Regions from separate parts of the Homo sapiens genome. Here all the other regions are linked to region 1. The links are contacts of gene promoters, found by promoter capture Hi-C in blood cells and fetal thymus (Javierre and others, 2016). All regions are on one chromosome and are shown on one strand. The core of a region is centred on a gene start or on the middle of the fragment in contact, and the rest is flanking DNA. Distances in the headings are between cores, read along the strand shown.

Region 1 (2,960 bases), core at 239-2,738:
ATTTTTGTATTTTTAGTAGAGACAGGGTTTCACCATGTTGGCCAGGCTGGTCTCGAACTCCTGACCTCAAGTGATCTGACTCCTCCTCGGCCTCCCAAAGTGCTGGGATTACAGGCGTGAGCCACTGCACCCGGCCTATTTCTGTTTTTTTTTGTTGTGTTTTGTTTTGTTTTGAGACGGAGTCTCGCTCTGTTGCCCAGGCTGGGGTGCAGTGGCATGATCTCGGCTCACTGCAAGCTCCGCCTCCCAGGTTCATGCCATTCTCCTGCCTCAGCCTCCTGAGTAGGTGGGACTACAGGCGCCCATCACCACGCCCGCCTAATTTTTTGTATTTTTAGTAGAGACGGGGTTTTACCATGTTAGCCAGGATGGCCTCGATCTCCTGACCTTGTGATCCACCCGCCTCAGCCTCCCAAAGTGCTGGGATTACAGGTGTGAGCCACCGCGCCTGGCCCCTATTTCTGTTTTTTAAGCCACTAGTCTGGTATTTTGTTATGGCAGCTCTAGCAAACACATATACCATGTATGAACAGCAGTTGTTTTGTATACTTCATGCAGTTTTCTAGTTGTTTACAGCACTAAGGGAAATCTGGTACCAGTTTTCTGTCTGAGCTGGAAGCTGAATACAACAGATTTGTTTTAACAGAGACAGAACAAGTTGGAAAAAGTTATAAATAGTCACACGAATTTCCATTTTACACAGGAAAACGTAATGAACATTTTAAAAAACAGCTTAAATGAAGTAATTGATATACAATAAACTGCACATATTTGAAGTACAAACTTGATAAAGTTTGACATATGTATACACCAATAAGATCATTACCACTGTCAATCTAAATAATAAAGAGAAAGAGGCTCTCTAAAAGAAAAAGAGATTTATTCAGGAGTTACGCATTGCAATGGGAATATGTGTGCCACAGTAAACTATGTATATGTATTGAATAGGTAAAGAAAGACAAAGGTTTTGGCTGGATGCGGTGGTTCATGCCTGCAATCCCAGCACTTTGGGAGACTGAAGTGGGTGGATTACATGAGGCCAGGAGTTCGAGACGAGCCTGGTCAACATGGCGAAAACCTGTCTCTACTAAAAATACAAAAATTAGCCGGGGATGGTGGTGCATGTCTGTAATCCCAGCTACCGGGGAGACTGAGGCGGGAGAATCAAACCCAGGAGGCAGAGGTTGCAGTGAGCTGAGATCACACCACTGCACTCCAGCCTGGGTGACAGAGCAAGACTCTGTCTCAAAAAAAAAAAAAAAAAAAAGAAAAAGGAAAAAGACAGAGGAGAAAGGTTTTCAAAGGAAAAAATGAAGAGGATTACATCATTGTTTTGAAATGATATCCTTGGCTATAAAAATCCTTAACAAGGGTGTTGCCTGGCTGAGGTTGGACAGGCAGTTGCTTGGTAGATGTCTTTGCAGATGAATTTTTTGTGTAAGTTTGTGATGGCTTTTTTGCAAGGTTGTGTTTTTTCAAGGGTCTTTTGTGATAGCTTCTGTTATGAGACATACAAGCCTTCCCTGGCTCTATTTTTTTTTTTAAACACTAGTGACTCCTAGTGTTAAATCTCAATTCTAACAACTTTCACATTACAATCAAGATAAAATGGCTGCCACCCCCAAAAGTTTCCTTGTGTCCCTTAGTAATCCTTGACTCCTGTACCTATACATCCCTCCTTTGCCTCTACCAATCTACAGGCAACCACTGATCTGCTTACTTACCACTATAGGTTAGTTTCCATTTTCCAGAATTTTATATGAATAGAATCTTTGACATGTGTTTTGTGTGTGTGTATGTGTGTGTGTGTGTGTGATGGAGTCTCCCTCTGTTGCCCAGGCTGGAATGCAATGGCGCGATCTCAGCTCACTGCAACCTCTGCCTCCCGGGTTCAAGCAATTCTCTGCCTCAGCCTCCAGAGTAGCTGGGATTACAGACACCAGCCACCACGCCCAGCTAATTTTTGTATTTTTAATAGAGATGGGATTTCACCATCTTGGCCAGGCTGATCTTGAACTCCTGACCTCATGATCCACCCACCTTGGCCTCCCAAAGTGCTGGGATTACAAGCATGAGCCGCTGCACCCGGCCTCTTTTTTTTATTTGGCTTCTTTCACTCAGCATTATTTTGAGAGTCATACACATTGTTAGGTGTATCAATAGTTTGTTGGGTTCTTTTCTGAGACAGTCTCACTCTATTACCCAGGCTGGAGTGCAGTGGCATGATCACAGCTCACTGCAGCCTCGACCTCCCAGGCTCAGGTGATCCTCCCACCTCAGCCTCCCAAGTAGCTGGGACCGCAGGTGCTCACTACCATATCTGGCAAATTTAAAAAAAAATTTTGCAGGCCAGGTGTGGTGGTTCACCCCTGTAATCCCAGCCTGTGGGAGGCCAAGGCAGGGCCAATCACAAGGCCAGGAGTTCGAGACCATCCTGGCCAACATAGTGAAACTCTGTCTCTACTAAAAATACAAAAAAAAAAAAAAAATTAGCCAGGAATGGTGGTGCGTGCCTGTAGTCCCAGCTACTTGGGAGGCTGAAGCAGGCGAATTGCTTGAACCCAGGAGGCAGAGGTTGCAGTGAGCTGAAATCACATCACTGCACTCCAGCCTGGGCAACGAGTGTGTCTCAAAAAAAAAAAAAATTTTTTTTTTTTTTTTTAGCAGAGATGAGGTCTTCCTATGTTGCCCAGGCTGGTCTGGAACTCCTGAGCTCAAGCAATCTTCCTGCCTCAGCCTCCCAAAGTTCTAGGATTATAGGTGTGAACCACCATGCCTATCAGTAGTTTGTTTCTTTATTTCTTTTCTTTTTCTTTTCCTTGTTTTTTTTTTTTTTTTTTTGAGATGGAGTCTCCCTCTGTCACCCAGGCTGGAGTGCAGTGGTGCAATCTCAGCTCGCTGCAATCTCTGCCTCCCGGGTTCAAACGATTCTCCTGTCTCAGCCTCCCGAGTAGCTGGGA
Region 2 (2,795 bases), core at 251-2,750, 560 kb before region 1:
GGAGAAGACTTAGGCCACAGGATCTGATGTAGAAATGGGGCTGACGTCTCCACCTGTATTTTCTTAGCTGGAGGAGTGTGCAAAGTTTGAATTACTTCTGCCTTCTCCTTCTTATTTCCTTTTCCCTTTTAAAATAGTCATCATAATCATAAAAATTTCTTTTCCATTTTCCCTGTTTTTGCATATAGGATTTCTTGGTGTGATTTAATTTGCCAATTAGTCTCTAGGTTGCAGAATGGTGACTTGGAATCAAATTGAAACTGGAAGAGGGCACCTCATATATTAGGGTCAGCAATTACTGAACTCTGTTCTCTTTTATTCCAAACAGGGCCCCCAACTTCACATTTCCCCAGGGTGCAAAAGAGTGAGGGGGGTCAAGCTTCAGTAGAGTGGAGCTCTGAGAAGAATCCACTGGAGTTTGGAACCCAAGACCCTTTTTTATCACGCTGTTCCTCCTCACCTGGGCAAAAGCACTGGTACCCACTTCACAGGCATCATGGGTGGGCTCTGTGTCCTGCGGAGAGCCCCCGTCCCGGGTACAGGACATCAGCCCTGAGCCCTGTCCCAGGCTTGGATCTTCTTTCTCTCTCTCTCTTTTTTTTTTTTTTTTTTTTTTTTTTTTTGAGACGGAGTCCCACTCTGTTGCCCAGACTGGAGTGCAGTGGTGCAGTCTTGGCTCACTGCAACCTCCACCTCCCAGGTTCAAGCGATTCTCCTGCCTCAGCCTCCCAAGTAGCTGGGATTACAGGCGCCCGCCACCAAGCCCGGCTAATTTTTGTATTTTTAGTAGAGATGGGGTTTCACCATGTTGGCCAGGCTGGTCTCAAACTCCTGACCTCAGGTTATCTGCCCGCCTCGGCCTCCCAAAGTGCTGGGGTTACAGGCGTGAGCCACCGCACCCGGCCTCAGTGACTTTAGTCAAGTAAGCACAAAAAGGAATATATAATTCCAAATTGTGATAAATGCTATGAAGAAAAGGAATGTGCTCTGACATAAAGGGGGGAACGAACGTGATCTAGGGAGTCAGAGATCTCTCCGAGAAGAGATCTGAAATAGGAGTAAGTCGAGAGGGGGAAGAGAATGCTAGACCGAGGGAACAGTGCGTGCCAAAGCCGCGTGGCGGAAAGGGGCGTGTGGGAGGGTAACTGCGGAGAGGGAGGGTAGAGGACGAAGCCGGAGAGGCAGACGAAGGGCAGGACGCACAGAGCCCCGCGGCTACCGCCTTAGGGGTTGTCCCGGCGGTGGGGAAGCCATTGAGGAGTTTAACGCCGGAAGGTGGTGACTAATCAGATTTCACTTGAAAATGGCACGGTGTCTGCAGCGAGGCTAACTGATGGGAAGGGCCCAGCGAATGCCAATAGGAGAGAGCACCGGACCTGGAAGGCCTGGGTCAACGCGGCCCCGCGCGGGGGCGAAGCGGTTCCGGCGCAGGGGCCTGGCGCGGGGCTCCGCGGAAAACCGAACCGGCCCACGTGGGACCGGTCGCTCCGCCCTGCTGCGCAGACGCCGCCTGACTCCGCAGTCCGGGACTGGGGCTGGGCGCGCTGCCCGGGAGCCCCGCACCCACGCCTGGACCGCGGAGACGCCCAGGCCGAGGAACCCCCAGCCCAGGGACTAGACACCACCAGGGCCGGGCGGAGCCAGAGCCAGACGCGCCGGAGCGGGCGCCTCTACGCCGTGAGTCCGAGTCTGGGGCCCGAGGCGGGGTGGGGCTTGGGGCTCAGCCGCGGGAAGCGGGGAGTCACAGTGGCCTCCTTCGAGGAGACTAGGGAAGGATGGTCTCTGTCTCCTGGGGTGGTCTCCCACTCCCGCAAGGCCAGAAAAGGAGGCTGCCTCCTGTTTGGGCGGAGACCTAGTCCTGGCGTGTCGGGGTTCTCATTTTACTATCTCTGAGAACCCTGTGATCCCTAGCGCCACCCCCACCCCATCCCAGCTTCCTTCACGGCCCCATCCAAGTATAGGAAAAATAAAAAATTGGGGCGAGGGGAGATCTCTAGGCACCTTCCCACAAGCCTTGCTTAGAGGGCGATTAGAAACGAACTGTTCCTACACCCTTCTCCCCAGGACTTCTCTGCCCATTGCTGGGGGTGGGGAGGGTCCATGCCACCTATGGAGCGCCTTCCAGTGCCGGCTCCACTTACAATACCCTTCCTCTTCATGCTCTTCAATTGTTCTAATCCCAGTGCTGTTTGGTCAGTAGAATCCCTTTGTCAGTTCAAATCCTAATTTTGGTTAGAAGCAGGTTATGGAGGAGAGAAGAGTGGTGTGGTATGCCCTCCCTCCAGGGCCTCAGAATGGAGCAAGCTAGGGACGGGGACCGCAAGATAGTGGCTGTGTTCCAGAGGCATTGGGAGGGAAGGGGGCAGGCTCAGAAGAAAAGCTTGTCACTGGGGAAGGCGGGGCTCCCTGGCTGGGGTAGGAAAGGGAACCAAACCCAGCTCTTCCAGAACCCAGCTCTTCCAGCCCTGGGGAGTCAAGAGTGGATTCCTGAGCATGGAAATTCACTGCAGTCTCTTCTCCCATTCACTCACTTAGCAAGTACCTGTATGCACAGACAGCCTGGTTCAGGGCTCTATGCTGGCTGACTCTGGGGAATATGATGGAGGATATATACAGGAGGTCCAAGCCAGATTACAAACTGCTATTACAAGATCATTACCACAAACCAAAAATGCCAGTTGAATAGACATTCACTGATCGTCGACCATGTATGCCAGGGACGGATGCAAAGTTGGATAAGACAGTGTATACCCAGCGCAGTGGGGACCCAGAGGAAGGCATAACTAACCGTGCTT
Region 3 (2,700 bases), core at 149-2,648, 580 kb before region 1:
AAAGTTGAACTGTTCAAAGATGGTAAGTGGGAAGTTTGGGAAACTTAGTGACTAGTGGCCTCTGAAGGAATTTTCCAGGAACTCTAGGATTTAGAACAACTTAGCTTTAAGAAAATACAGTATAGGCTGGGCGTGGTGGCTCATGCCTGTAATCCCAGCACTTTGGGAGGCTGAGATGGACAGATCCCCTGAGGTCAGGAGTTCAAGACCACCCTGGCCAACATGGTGAAACCCTATCTCTACTAAAAAAACAAAAATTAGCCAGGCATGGTGGCACGCACCTGTAATCCCAGCTACTCGGGAGGTTGAGGCATGAGAATCACTTGAACCCAGGAGGTGGAGGTTGCAGTGAGCCGAGATGGCATCTCTGCACTCCAGCCTAGGCGACAGAGCGACACTTCATCTCAAAAAAAAAAAAAAAGAGAAAATACAGTATAGGTCTTCGATAAAAATCAGTTTTCAGAAAGCCACCAAACTTCTGCCATTTTGGACCACATGGGACCAAGGTGACTTTGAATCCAGGGTGACACCAGATTTATTCTCCGGGGGAGCTGAAGTCATAAGAAGTAACTAGTCGTTTTGATTACCAGGAGCTCTGAGCCTTAGTCTTCCTTCTGATGTGGGGGTCAAGATTTGTTAGGCTGTAAGAAGATCCCAGTTTATTACCTTTCTACACCACACCATCTCTAGTTTGTCTCTTAAAGCTGGTGTGCTCAAATGCAAAATGAAATAGTTTGAACCTTCCAGCAGGTATTCTAATACATGTAAAAGAGATTAAGAGTTTTCTGGCTTTCAAATCACCCAATCTAAGTTGAATCCAGGCTCTGCTACCTTCTAGCTATGTGACCTTGGGTAAATGTAATCTTTCTGAGGCTCAATTCCCTCAACTGTAAAATGAAGAGAATAATAGTACCCATTCCTATGATAATATGTTAATGCCTGTAAAGCACAGTTATTAGCACACAAGACATATTAAGTGATCAACTTTTAAATACAGATGCTCCACATCTTACAATGGGACTATATCCTGATCAATCCATCATAAGTTGAAAATGCACTTTCATATTATCCAGATATAACTCCATCGTAAATCGAGAAGCATACTAAGTGCGTATCACATTCATGTCATCGTAAAGTTGAAAAATCATTAAGTCAAACCATCATAAGTGGAGACTATTACAAAAAAATTTAAATATTATCAAATGTATTATGTTTATTATTATTAGAAGTGACTCTGTTCTGCTTTTCTTTGCTTCCATATTCTGTGAGTATATTCATTGTTGCATTTTCTAATCCTCAAAATTGCTTTCTAGGAGGTTGAGGAAATACCTGGAGGATGAGGCAGAGGTGTCAGGAAGTGATGTGGGAAGCGAAGATGAGTATGATGGGGAAGAAATTGATGAATATGAAGAGGACGTAATTGATGAAGTACTTCCTTCTGATGAGGAACTGCAGAGTCAAATCAAGAAAATACACATGTCAGTATCCCAATAAGCCCTTCTGAGTAATAGGGTACATCTTAAGACAAGCCCTGTAACCAGCCAGAATGGTCCTTGTTTTGAACACCTTATTTCTCCTGTTGCAGGAAAACTATGTTGGATGATGATAAGCGACAGCTACGTTTATACCAAGAGAGGTACCTTGCTGATGGGGATCTGCACAGCGATGGTCCTGGGCGAATGAGGAAGTTTCGATGGAAAAACATAGGTATCTTGGTTGTTGTCTTTAAAAGCAATCAGTTACGGGCTGAGCATGGTGGCTCACGCCTGTAATCCCAACACTTTGGGAGGCAGAGGCAGGTGGATCACAAGGTCAGGAGTTCAGGACCAGCCTGAACAACATGGTGAAACCCCGTCCCTACTAAAAGTTCAAAAATTAGCAGGCTGTGATGGCACGCGCCTGTAATCCCAGCTACTCAGGAGGCTGAGGCAGGAGAATTGCGTGAACCCGGGAGACGGAGGTTGCAGTGAGCAGAGATCATGCCATTGCACTCCAGCCTGGGCGACAGAGCGAGACTCCATCTCAAAAAAAAAAAAAAAAAAGCAAACAGTTACAATGCATATTTGTCGAGTTTCAGATGGCAAATGGCAAGCAAAACTATAACAGGCTATGTGAAGACCTAGTTGTAACTGTTTTCTGTTAATGGATGGGAAAAGTTTACATCATTATATAGTAAATGATAAGGGTTTATTTTTTGTCTGTCCAAGCACCCTCTCCTGTGAGGACTGCCGAATGCTGATTACCTTCACTCTTTGTTTAGATGATGCTTCCCAGATGGACTTGTTCCACAGAGACTCTGATGATGATCAGACTGAAGAACAGCTTGATGAGTCAGAAGCCAGGTGGAGGAAGGAGCGAATTGAACGAGAGCAGTGGCTTCGGGACATGGTAGGAGTTCACCTACTCTGACCCTAGTTTATGAGACTGTCCCTTAGCTTGTCATGATAGTTTCAAAATCTTAGCTTGTCATGATAGTTTCAAAATCTTAGGCAACATATTGCTATCTCTTTTAATCCTTGAGCTATCTTTTGTGTTTTGAGAAGGCTATACCATAGACAGTTCTCTTCATGTTTGTCTAAGATTAATTTTTTTTTGTCTAAAGCAGCAAAGGCTGCAAAAAGGAAAACAAATACCCCAGGAACTCTAGTTTCACAATCCAGGCCATGCTAACTATTTAGGAAGGTTATAGACTTTTAATGC

Evidence for each region. The method cuts DNA at HindIII sites, captures the fragments that hold promoters and counts their contacts. A CHiCAGO score of 5 or more calls a contact.
Region 2: a contact is called between the fragment with the promoter of C1orf216 here and a fragment that was not itself captured in region 1, in 2 of 17 cell types (M1 macrophages and M0 macrophages). The highest score is 5.5, in M1 macrophages.
Region 3: the fragment with the promoter of CLSPN-AS1 here is called in contact with a fragment that was not itself captured in region 1 in 1 of 17 cell types (M2 macrophages); the score reaches 5.0 in M2 macrophages.

What each region holds. Positions count from the first base shown.
Region 1 is chr1:35,158,883-35,161,842 of GRCh38, reverse strand. No RefSeq gene overlaps it. Among named protein-coding and RNA genes, the nearest start is that of SFPQ, 33 kb to the left of the region's middle. The HindIII fragment of the contact is 4,233 bases long and covers 1-2,960 here.
Region 2 is chr1:35,717,589-35,720,383 of GRCh38, reverse strand. C1orf216 (chromosome 1 open reading frame 216) reads left to right here and starts at 1,500. Exons shown (of 2, transcript NM_152374.2): 1 at 1,500-1,677. It also overlaps a transcript of CLSPN not described here. RefSeq lists a silencer at 1,339-1,768. The HindIII fragment of the contact is 2,001 bases long and covers 382-2,382 here.
Region 3 is chr1:35,738,143-35,740,842 of GRCh38, reverse strand. CLSPN-AS1 (CLSPN antisense RNA 1) reads right to left here and starts at 1,398. Exons shown (of 2, transcript NR_199043.1): 1 at 1,330-1,398. It overlaps CLSPN (claspin), which reads left to right. Exons shown (of 25, transcript NM_022111.4): 19 at 1,314-1,478; 20 at 1,586-1,707; 21 at 2,261-2,388. RefSeq lists enhancers at 1,105-2,304, 2,048-2,549. The HindIII fragment of the contact is 7,776 bases long and covers 1-2,700 here.